4 separate regions of the Homo sapiens genome follow, and all the other regions are linked to region 1. The links are contacts of gene promoters, found by promoter capture Hi-C in human tissues and cell types (Jung and others, 2019). All regions are on one chromosome and are shown on one strand. Each heading gives the region's core, a stretch centred on a gene start or on the middle of the fragment in contact. The rest is flanking DNA. Distances are from core to core; before and after follow the strand shown. Region 1 holds the start of WDR53 (WD repeat domain 53). Region 2 overlaps DLG1 (discs large MAGUK scaffold protein 1). Region 3 overlaps DLG1 (discs large MAGUK scaffold protein 1). Region 4 has its middle 11 kb from the start of DLG1.

Region 1 (2,700 bases), core at 175-2,674:
TCAGATGGATCAACTCTGCTTATCCTTGAAGACTTCAAAGAAATTAGTGAGAGACAGTCACCATCACCAGAGTCAGCACAGGTCAACTTTTCTCTACAGGCTTGGGGTTTCTGAAGTTGGACTTGATGTGGAGAAGCTGGATAGCAACCAAAATGATTGAAGGGCTGTGGCGCTGGCACTGGTAAGAATGAAAAGAATTAGGGTTACTGGACTTGGTGAAAAAGACATGAGGAGAAGGGACAGGCAAATAATAATCAAACACCATGAATCAGAGGGTAGGGAAGGTAGCCACCGTTCCTTTGCTTTTACTAGAGACTAAGAAATGGATTATACATAGCAAGAAGCTTCAGAAAAGATTTCTTACTACATAAAGGTTCCAAGACATTGGAGTTGACCAAGGGAGTCTGTGAACCCTATTATTTTAATTACTCAGCTCATGGAGTTGTTTTGAGGATTACGTATATAAAAATCTGCGTAAATGACGTAGTATACAGTGCCTGGTTCACACCGTGGCTCAAATGATGGTTATTATTATTCTCTTACTAAGCATGCTTTAAAGGCTGTCGGAAAACTTTGGGGCCACCTAGGAAATCGTAGTATAATCAAATAATGCTGAAATTCTTGTGTGTGTGTGTGTGTGTGTGTGTGTGTGTGTGTGAGGTAGGGGCTCACTCTGTCGCCCAGGCTGGAGCACAGCAGGGCGATTACGGTTCACCTCAGCCTCGACCTCCCGGGCTCAGCCTCCCAAGTAGCTGGGACCAGAGGCGCACGCCACCACCCTCGGCTAATTTTTCTATTTTTTTGTAGCGACACTGCCTCGCAATGTTGCCCAAGCTGGGATGCTGAAATTCTTCCCCTTCCAAGAATCCATCTATAATTATAGCCTCCACGTCATTCTCCCTATTGGAATGTTTAATTGACTAAAACTACATTGCCTTCATCTGCTTACTAAGCGGTGGATCCAGTAAAGACCACATCTTGTCCAAAAGACGGCAGCACTTAATTAGCGCTCAAATGGCACTCGAACGTTTGGGCGAGGGGGTGTTCAGTCGCAGCCACCTTACTTTGCGAAGGCACACAGGGACAGACGTTCGCTAAGTGCCGATACTTAGGGAGAACGAGAGGGCCTGACCAGGTAAAGACGGCCTCCGCTGCCCAAGCTACACAAAAAGGTTGGGGAGCCAGGACCCGGCAAGCAAGGAGAGAAAAGTTTCATGCGTTGAGCTGGAGTCTGAAGCAAGGACCTAACGGACACAGGGAAACGTCACAGGAAAGGGAGCCCAGGAGAGCAGACGCGGAGCCACCAGACCAGAAAAAGGAAAAAGCACTGGAAAACAGCATCGAAGTCACCGGAAAGCAGCATCGAAGCCACCGGCGCCAGCCTCATACCTGCGCTTCCCGCTCCCCTCCTCGGCGCCTAGTGATAACCTCACCCGCCGGCGCCCAATCCCGTCGAGCGTCAGGCGTGAGGCGGCGCAGCCAAACAGTCACATCCGGGGCCGAGAGGAACCGCGAACGAGCTGGGCGTGCGCCCTTGCTTCGTGCCCTCAACCCGCATGGCGGAGCCGCTGGCGCGCCGCGGAGAGGCCGGGCGAGTCGGGCGGTTTCGGCGCCCGCGCTGAGCCGCGGAGGAGGGGCGGAGGACGCCCCTGCAGCCGGTGCGTCTGCCCTCAGTGAGGCGGGGCGCGCGGCGGACGCCCCCGGGCAGGGGCGGGAGTGGTGGAGGCGCCGGCGGTTGGCACTGACAGGGGCGGTGAGCGAGCCGCTCCGGTCTCCGGGCGAGGCTTGGCCTTCCGAGCAGAGACGGCGGGAAGCGGCGGCGGCAGCGGCGGCCCTAGGGCCGGCTGGTGAGGCGATGGCGGCGCCGGCCCCGGGGGCTGGGGCAGCCTCGGGCGGCGCTGGCTGTAGCGGCGGCGGCGCGGGCGCGGGCGCGGGCTCGGGCTCTGGGGCCGCGGGGGCCGGGGGCCGGCTGCCCAGCCGGGTGCTGGAGTTGGTGTTCTCTTACCTGGAGCTGTCCGAGCTGCGGAGCTGCGCCCTGGTGTGCAAGCACTGGTACCGCTGCCTGCACGGCGATGAGAACAGCGAGGTGTGGCGGAGCCTGTGCGCCCGCAGCCTGGCAGAAGAGGCTCTGCGCACGGACATCCTGTGCAACCTGCCCAGCTACAAGGCCAAGGTGAGAGAGCCCCGGGCCACACCGCTGCCCCCAGTCCCGCTCCCCGGCGTCGTTCGCGGTGTTTCTCATCCGAGCTTCTGAGTCAGAAGCTTCGCCTCACCAGCCCGCCTTTCCACGGCTCCAGTCAGTATCTTCCTCACCTCCCCCCAAGATAAAGATTCTCTTTTCTTTGGATCGAAGTTCTGCTCCTTAACCCATCCCACTTCCGTGATCCACTTTTCAAACAACTAGGTAGTTTGCCTCACTCATTCAACTTTTGACAGTTTTCCCCGTTAAAGACAGACCACCACTCTTGTACCTTTTAATGCCCTCATCCTACTTTTCTCCCCGGCCTCCAGATAGACTTCATTATATTAAATAATCCCGGCCACCTTAACATGGGCTTAGTTTCTAAGTTTCTAAGTTTCTAGTTTGCTTTCACTCCACGTTTATCTCATCTTTTCCAAGCTCTGATTTTTAACCATTTGTTTTCATTATTTTCCCCCAAGTTCTCTTTAGTTCCCTCCACTATATTGGAGGCTTACAAG
Region 2 (2,700 bases), core at 117-2,616, 530 kb after region 1:
TTGTCATGAAACGTATTAGGACGTATCTGAACTGCTGGCTACAAGTTAGTATGTATACGCTTATACAAGGAGAGATATTTAAAAGCTGATTTTTTCATTTGATATCCCCTTTCAAATTTTAACCTTTGTTTTCACCGCCACACTAGAAGTAAAAAGTGAGGAAGGGGTATGGGGGAAATTGGACTTCCTCAATCTCTTCTTAACATGCAATCCCTATAAAGAAAAACATTCATTTATAACTGTAATAAAATACATTAAACACAGATATTAAACCCAAGAGAAACAATTCTCAGAGGATGGATACTATTAATTGGCCTAAAGAAAAAGGGAAACTATTTTTAAGAAGGCCAGTTAGTTGTTTTAAGTACAATAGCTCTCTGGCATACTCGGAGGATTAGTTCCAGAACCCCACGTATACCAAAACCCGTGCATGTTCAAGTCTAACAGGAGGCCTTGTGGAATCTGACAGGCATATGGCATTTTCTATCCCAGTTTGGTTGAACAGCACGTGCGTAAGTGGACACTCGCAGTTCAAACCTGTGTTGTTCAAGGGTCAACTGCAGCACAGGCGCGTAGAAAAATACAGCAAGGGAAGTGGGAAAGCAGGAGACTGAAAAAAATTTTAATTACCTATCTACTACTGAAAATGATAAGAAATGACAAATGTCTGCAAATAAATGCCACTAGTCCACTGCAATCTTCCCAGATTATCTCCACCTCTTCTCCCTTTGGTTGGTATAAGAAGTAATAATGAAAATAAAGTCAGGACACTGGGTGTTAGAAATCTACCTTTGTAACTCAAGATTTCAATCAAAGCTTTGAAGCGCAGAAAAGTTAAGTGACTATGGCCTAACCTCTCTAGACTCTGGTCACTTGCAAAATAGGGATTATGCCACCAAACAGTTTTTTTCTTGCGAAAATAAAATATGTCACAAATATAAGACCTAACCAATGGGAAAGAGAAAATAAATTTAACTTATATATTGAGTTTCTTTCCAATTTATTTCTTTTATGGTATTATTACAATATAATTAATGCTTTCTGAACAAAAGATTGAGATATAAGCTCTGAAAGTTGGCCTAATACTCTTGAGGAACAATAAGATTAAATATTTGAGGTGAGAGATTCCAAGAGTTTAATGAGTAGTTGAAAGAGTAAGAACAGGGTATGGAGACCCACCCAGAACCCCAGAGTTGCCACAAAGATTTTAAGCTGAAGATATCTGAGATTCAACAGATGCAGGAAAAAAGCCTTCTCGGAGTTTCTCTAATCTGACTAAAAGGTGCAGCTTCCGAGAAATGAAGTTACCATAAATACCCTCTGAGGAGTCTGATGGCCCCGAAGAATGGAAAGACCAGTCATACCAGTTTAGACAAATGTCATCACAAACTTTATCCCCCATCTCTTCTCCTAAAAACTTGTCTTTCCTGAAGAAATGTACGTTTTTCTAATAAAAGCTGTTTCTCCCTCCTTCCTTTCCCTACTAGATTAGGTGTACAAGCTTTTAACTTCATCCACAAGCTAGCTTCAGTATTTCTTCTGTTGCCTCTTGCATCCATATACAAGAAACTTTTTTTCCATGTTAATCTGTTTTTTTTGTCAGTTTACTTCACAGGCCCGTTACTGAACATACAAGGGTGGAGGAAAAGGTTTTTCTTCGCTTAAAAGGGGCTAGAAGAAATCTTAACCGTTTAACAGTTGTGTAACTAGCAAATTACTTGGTCTCTTTATGGAAGAGCTTATTCAACTACAACGTAAAACGGGGATAACGGTGCTTACTTACAGGATTATCTTGGGAGTTAAAAGAGTGAATAAACATAACATGGTTCGTATCATGCATGGCGTACAGTTTTACTATTATATACTATCACAGGAGATTCTTTTTTTTTTTTTGAGACAGAGTCTCGCTCTGTCGCCCAGGCTGGAGTGCAGTGGCGTGATCTCGGCTCACTGCAAGCTCGGCCTCCCGGGTTCACGCCATTCTCCTGCCTCAGCCTCGCGAGCAGCTGGGACTACAGGTGCCCGCCACCACGCCTGGCTAATTTTGGTTTTGTATTTTTAGTAGAGACGGGGTTTCACCGTGTTAGCCAGAATGGTCTCTATCTCCTGACCTCGTGATCTGCCCGCCTAGGCCTCCCAAAATGCTGGGATTACAGGCGTGAGCCACCGCGCCTGGCCAAGAGATTCTTAAACTATAGGAAGTATGTGATAAAACTTTATAACTTTGGGATATGGAGTCCAAAACGAGTATAGTATTATATTTCCAGTTCCCATGTTCGATTATTTTTATTTTTATTTTGAGACGGGGTCTCACTCTGTCGCCCAGGCTCAAGTGCAGTGGTGAGATCATAGCAATCCTGCCTTGGCTGGGACTACGGGTGCGCACTACCACGCATGGCTAATTAAAAAACTTTAAAAAAAGTTTTAGCAGAGACAAGATCTTGCTATGTTGCCCAGGCTGGTCTCGAACTCCTGGGCTCAAGTAATCCTCCCACCTAGGCCTTCCAAAGTGCTGGGATTAGAGGCCTGAGCCACCACGTCCAGCTAATTTCTGATAATGATTCTCCAAAAAGATTAACAGTAAAGGCCCCCCAAAGTGAATTATTCCTTGCCTTTGGAATTAATAAAACTGAAAGGAGTTAGAAGATAATGTTCCTTCATATGTCTTGTAGAGATTATTTTTTCTCATAATCAGAATCC
Region 3 (2,700 bases), core at 57-2,556, 550 kb after region 1:
CCTTACCTTGTAATTTCATCATCTCCAAGTACTGCTTTAGAAACTGGGGAGTATCTGGCTGGAGATGCTGGTGTCTGGCCCAAGAAGGAAGATGGGCTAACATGGTTATCAACAGGCTGAGAAGAAGCTTCAAAATAAACAAAGTGAAAAATACTTCAAACACGAAACAAGCCAATCAGTATTCCATTTATGAGTGATTAATGTGTAATTTATATGCACTCCTTTATATATCAGAATTTGGTAGAGAAGATTTACTCATCAGCCAAAAAACTGGACATTATGTTGCCCAGGTTAGTCTCAAACTCCTGTCCTGAAGTGATACTCCCACCTCAGCCTCCCAAAGTGTTGGGATTACAGGCATAAGCCACCACACCCAGATTACTTAAAGAATTATATACAGTCCAAATTTGATTGTGAATAATAAAAATCAGAGGCTTTCCAATAAGTGCGAAAAGACTATGTCCTTATACTAGCTCAGATCTGTCAACCTAATTTACATCTATGCTTTTAAATTCACCCATAGAAGAATAAAAACCTGGTAAAAAGCAAAAACGAAAAACAAGCAAAAACTGTCGTCCAGGCGTAGTGGCTCACGCCTGTAACCCTAGCACTTTGGGAGGCCAAGGCAGGCGGATCACCTGAGGTCAGGAGTTCGCGACCAGCCTGGCCAACATGGTGAAATCCCATCTCTACCAAAAAAATACAAAAATTAGCCAGACTTGGTGGTGTGGCCTGTAGTCCCACTTACTCGGGAGGCTGAGGTGGGAGAATTGCTTGAACCTGGGAGGTGGAGGTTGCAGTGAGCCGAGATCGCATCACTGCACTCCAGCCTACGTAGGTGACAGAGTGAGATGCCCTGTCTCGAGAAAGAAAAAAAAAAAAAAAAAAGCAAAAACCAAACGTTGGTTCACTTCAATAGTAATAAATACCACATATAGGTTTTCCATTCTAGCAAAAGCTAATAACAGAAAATTATAGTGATTCCTGACCATGCTTTCTAAAGACACAGGTAGGTAACACATGGCAGCTGTAGCTTACAAAGACATAAGACACTTGAATTATTCCAATCATTACCAAAACACAGAGGAAGCAATATTTAACTTTCTTGAGGCTTCAACTATGATAAAGTTACAAAGCACTTCAAAAGTAGCTGTATTATTTAATTATCAAGCATTAATCTCTTTTTTATTAAATTAGAGCATATCTTCTATGGAGGGAAGCAGCATACTACGCACTGGAGTACAAAAATGCAGGAATTATTAGTTCAAATTACTATAGTGGCCAGATAGGTAACATAAAGGAATAAAGTGAACTGGATGAAAGACAACAGGAAATGACTGAAACGATAGTATTTTAGAGATGCAGTGTATCTATTGATATTACAGGTTTGCAGTATCCAACAGCAATTGTTTCCTATCCAGTTCATATATAAGATGCTCGTTTGTATTTGAGCCAAAGGACTTTCTACCAATGGCTCTTAACTTTGAAAGTCCAAAGTCTTTCCTGGGTGGTCAGTAAGAATATGGGATTTTCAAGTGAATTGGTATGTAGCCCTCAATCAATAGATACCCACGTGAACCTCTACAATCACTAGCCTGTTAAAAATCCAGAGTTTACTGATTTTTGACTCTTAAATTCTTTTGCTGCATTTTCATATTTAGATGAAACAAAAAAAACAACTAGACAAGAAATCCAGTCAAATGCCCAAACCAGAAAATATACATTTTCCCTGACACATCCAGACTATCCCTTTAGTCAATGCATCCTTTCTGGGGCAGTTAATCTCACATGTACCACATACTCTCAGACAACAGAGACTAAAAATTAATGTTCCTATGAAAGAAATGACGGCCTCAAAGAAGGATCAGATAAAACAGTACTATTTCTTATACCCCAAATCTTATGTAAAAAGGTCCCCCAGAGAAGCACAAGAGTGCCTAATTCATTTTTCTTATATATTAAGATGAATGATTCAACACTATAAGATTTTATAGAAAAGCAAGTAGAAGAGCTTGAAGTGAGAATGGGAAAAGACTGGTGTCCAAATCAGAAGTAGCAAGGCCATGCAGCTAAAGAGAATATAAGTTAAAAGCGAGAAAATATATACTGTAAAAAACAGGAACATTTTAATGTCGGCAGAGAAACTGTATTCTCTGTTAGATTCAACAGACTTCTTTTTTTTCCTACTTTTATTCCTGAGTATCATATTTTGACTACCTTATTTTGGTTATAAACATTGTGGCTCTTTATCTTCTATAGTTCATGTATAACTTCTATGATCTTCCCTATTTCTTTTACTATTCTTGCTAAAAATATTTTTCTAACTAGTACAAAAATTGTTTTCCAATTTTGACATCTGCTCACTTGCAAGGCTGCCTCTGTGAGAAACATCCCCTCCATCAATGCTTGACAATCACCACAAAAAAAAAAAAAAAAAAAAATCAAATGTTATCTAGTCCTCTTAGGTAACAAGAGAAAGAAAATCTGAACATTCTTGTGTCTGCTAAGGAAAATGCATTCAGAACTAAAATCCTTCCCAAGAAAACTCCAGGGCCAGACAGATAGATAGCTTCATTGGAAAATTCAACAAAACATCTAGAGATGAAATAACATTCTGAAACATTACAAGACAGAAAAATTTCAGGACACTATCGTTAAGTTCATGCTTGTGAACACAGATGTAAACCTAAACAAAATATA
Region 4 (2,700 bases), core at 43-2,542, 740 kb after region 1:
GAATGGATTTAAACAAGTTGGCAAGTCACTTTGCGTGCCACTACATTTTGAAATGTCAAGGGGGATTGGGATGAGAAAGTAATTCAAGAAATTGCTATATATGATGAAAGACTGAATACACACCAGACCATATATGACAACAGAACTCTGTGATCCACAACCTCTGCAGCAAGCAACCCAGGAAATCAGACAACAACCACTGCAGTAATTGGCCTAAAATAATCAGAACTTGGTCAATGACTGCCAGCTTCCCTATTTTTTTTTTTTTTTTTTTGAGACGGAGTCTCACTCTGTCGCCCAGGCTGGAGTGCAGTGGCGCGATCTCGGATCACTGCAGGCTCCGCCTCCCGGGTTCACACCATTCTCCTGCCTCAGCCTCCCGAGGAGCTGGGACTACAGGCACCCGCCACCACGCCCGGCTATTTTTTTTGTATTTTTTAGTAGAGACGGGGTTTCACCATGTTAGCCAGGATGGTCTCGATCTCCTGACCTCGTGATCCGCCTGCCTCGGCCTCCCAAAGTGCTGGGATTACAGGCGTAAGCCACCACGCCCGGCCCAGCTTCACTAATTTTTACCATCTTTCAACTCAAGGCCAATCAGAGAAAGGCAAGTATTCTCCCTAAATCAATCATACAAAATGCCTTGCTTCTAGTTATCTTGCCTCCAGCTTTTCCATACCTGAGGATCTCCTTTTCTCTTCTTTTAATTATAAAGCTTTCCTACTCCCTTGCCTGCCTTTGAGCCTCTGCCAAATGCAAGTGACGGTGCTCACTCCCTCGCTATAGCAAGCTCTGTATAAATAGCCTCTGTTCTCATTCAGGTGGTCATCACTTACTTCCACAGACAGGGAAAGTTCCTAAAAACAGACAGAAAAATTGTTTAGTCTGCTACTTTAATAAAAGCCTTATTCATCAGGTCATTCAGTAAACTAATCTGTATGATGCAACTACTATGAGCCAGGAACTAAAACAAATTCTATTTCTCTAGGAAAATTTGTCTGAGAAGGAAATTGCAAAGCTGAAGCCTTGGGACTTGAAAATTCAAATCTTCCGTCTTTGTTTATGGTCTGTAGCAGGCAAACAACTTCGAACTTCTCAAGGTTGCTTGGCTAAACACGAACGAGTGGATGAAGAGAACACCTCAGCAATAAATATAATGCCTGGAAAAGAATTTTACTAAGAACAATGTTTTTTATGCCACTTTTTAATTTTTTTAAAAATTTCTCATTACCTCTGAAGATTTGTGACACTATTGTTTGAGCCATTATTTTTTAAATGATACATATAACTGCTTGTCTAGGATGGTTTCTCTTTCTTTCTCTTTCTCTCAATTATCTTCAGTTTTCTAATCTAGACCACAAAGTTCTCCATTAATAAAGTTGGCAAACAAAGTGTCTGAAAACATTTTGTTACAGGGAATGATATTCTGCTAAGTTTTACTGAAGATGGAATTTTCATTAGTACTGCTAATGAACCATTCTTATTCCTTTTGGGAACTATGATTTATTAAAAGAATTGTACGTTTTTTAAAAACACCAAAAGAATTACACTCATTCATTTTCAATATGACTAGGGTATTTGCAATAGAAAACTTAGTGAGTATTCCCTAAAGTCACGGTGGCTTTTAAACACTGCATAATTCTGGGTATTAACATCAGGAAAGCATTGCACTGTTCCTCATTAGAAGGATAATGCCATTATAATAGCTTTACTCTGAGGCATAAAGCGGTTAAATGAAGCACCAGAAAAGGAAAAGCAAAAGTTTGTTTGGTGAATCATTCTTTTCTATGGTTTGGTGACCCTAAATTGAGCCAGAAAAGAATGCAGCTAGTGGCTTAATTTGAAGAATTTCCCAAGGAAATGATGCAATACTGTACAATTCTTATTGGTCTCTAACCTCTGGGATCTCTGTTCATGAAGCTGCCTATTAACACAGCTTTGCAAGTTAATTGTGAACAAATCAGGAGAGAATAAAAACTCAAACATAAATCTCTGATCTAACCACTTCATTTAGGAAGGGATTTGGAAGATCTTCTCGGACCAGTGTTTTTGATTCTCTTCTTTGCATTGTGACCTTATACTGGAAACTCAGGTGTGACTGCTATTATTCTGGTCCCAAGTGCCAGGAAGTTCAGATCAGGTTGAGGGCAAGCTCAGGCCAGGGTGACTCTGAGGTCAGGCTATTCACATGTCTTTTCTTAGGCTAGGATCGCTTGAGGAACACAACCACGTTGCTGGGGTTAATAGATCTATTCTCCAAAGCCAAAGTATTTGGCATGGTCAGCATAATTGTACTGTGTGTTGCAATTGGGCTCTGAGCACAGAGTCTTGCTGAGTGCCTTATGAATTTGGTCATGGAGAGAAGGCTGGTGCAGGAGTGAGCAAGGGAAACTCCTATTCAGAGAAAGTTTTTACTCCAGAAATCACCATTCCTTAGGAGAAGATTGCTTTAAAAAATTTTTTTTTAAATTTTTTATTTTTTGAGTTGGAGTCTCACTCTGTCGCCCAGGCTGGAGTGCTATGGAGGGATCTTGGCTCACTGCAACCTCCGCCTCCTGGGTTCAAGCGATTCTCCTGCCTCAGCCTCTCCAGTAGCTGGGATTACAGGCACCCGCCACCACACCCGGCTAATTTTTTGCCATGTTGGCCAGGCTGGTCTCGGACTCCTGACCTCAGGAGATTTACCCGCCTCAGCCTCTC

The links. Contacts are between HindIII fragments. The study calls those that stand out against the background at their distance.
Region 2: a contact is called between a fragment that was not itself captured here and the fragment with the promoter of WDR53 in region 1, in 1 of the 25 tissues and cell types used here (mesenchymal stem cells).
Region 3: a fragment that was not itself captured here is called in contact with the fragment with the promoter of WDR53 in region 1 in 1 of the 25 tissues and cell types used here (mesenchymal stem cells).
Region 4: a fragment that was not itself captured here is called in contact with the fragment with the promoter of WDR53 in region 1 in 1 of the 25 tissues and cell types used here (lymphoblastoid cells).

The regions. Positions count from the first base shown.
Region 1 is chr3:196,567,130-196,569,829 of GRCh38, forward strand. It overlaps WDR53 (WD repeat domain 53), which reads right to left and starts at 1,425. Exons shown (of 4, transcript NM_182627.3): 1 at 1,390-1,425; 2 at 1-178. It overlaps FBXO45 (F-box protein 45), which reads left to right and starts at 1,531. Exons shown (of 3, transcript NM_001105573.2): 1 at 1,531-2,173. The coding sequence starts at 1,856. RefSeq lists an enhancer at 1-766 and silencers at 1,488-2,027, 2,149-2,443. The HindIII fragment of the contact is 3,803 bases long and covers 1-2,700 here.
Region 2 is chr3:197,099,511-197,102,210 of GRCh38, forward strand. The region is part of intron 14 of DLG1 (discs large MAGUK scaffold protein 1); the gene reads right to left. Among named protein-coding and RNA genes, the nearest start is that of MELTF, 71 kb to the left of the region's middle. The HindIII fragment of the contact is 3,098 bases long and covers 1-2,700 here.
Region 3 is chr3:197,119,404-197,122,103 of GRCh38, forward strand. DLG1 (discs large MAGUK scaffold protein 1) reads right to left here. Exons shown (of 25, transcript NM_001366207.1): 12 at 7-127. Among named protein-coding and RNA genes, the nearest start is that of MELTF, 91 kb to the left of the region's middle. The HindIII fragment of the contact is 7,210 bases long and covers 1-2,700 here.
Region 4 is chr3:197,307,916-197,310,615 of GRCh38, forward strand. No RefSeq gene overlaps it. Among named protein-coding and RNA genes, the nearest start is that of DLG1, 11 kb to the left of the region's middle. The HindIII fragment of the contact is 4,492 bases long and covers 1-2,700 here.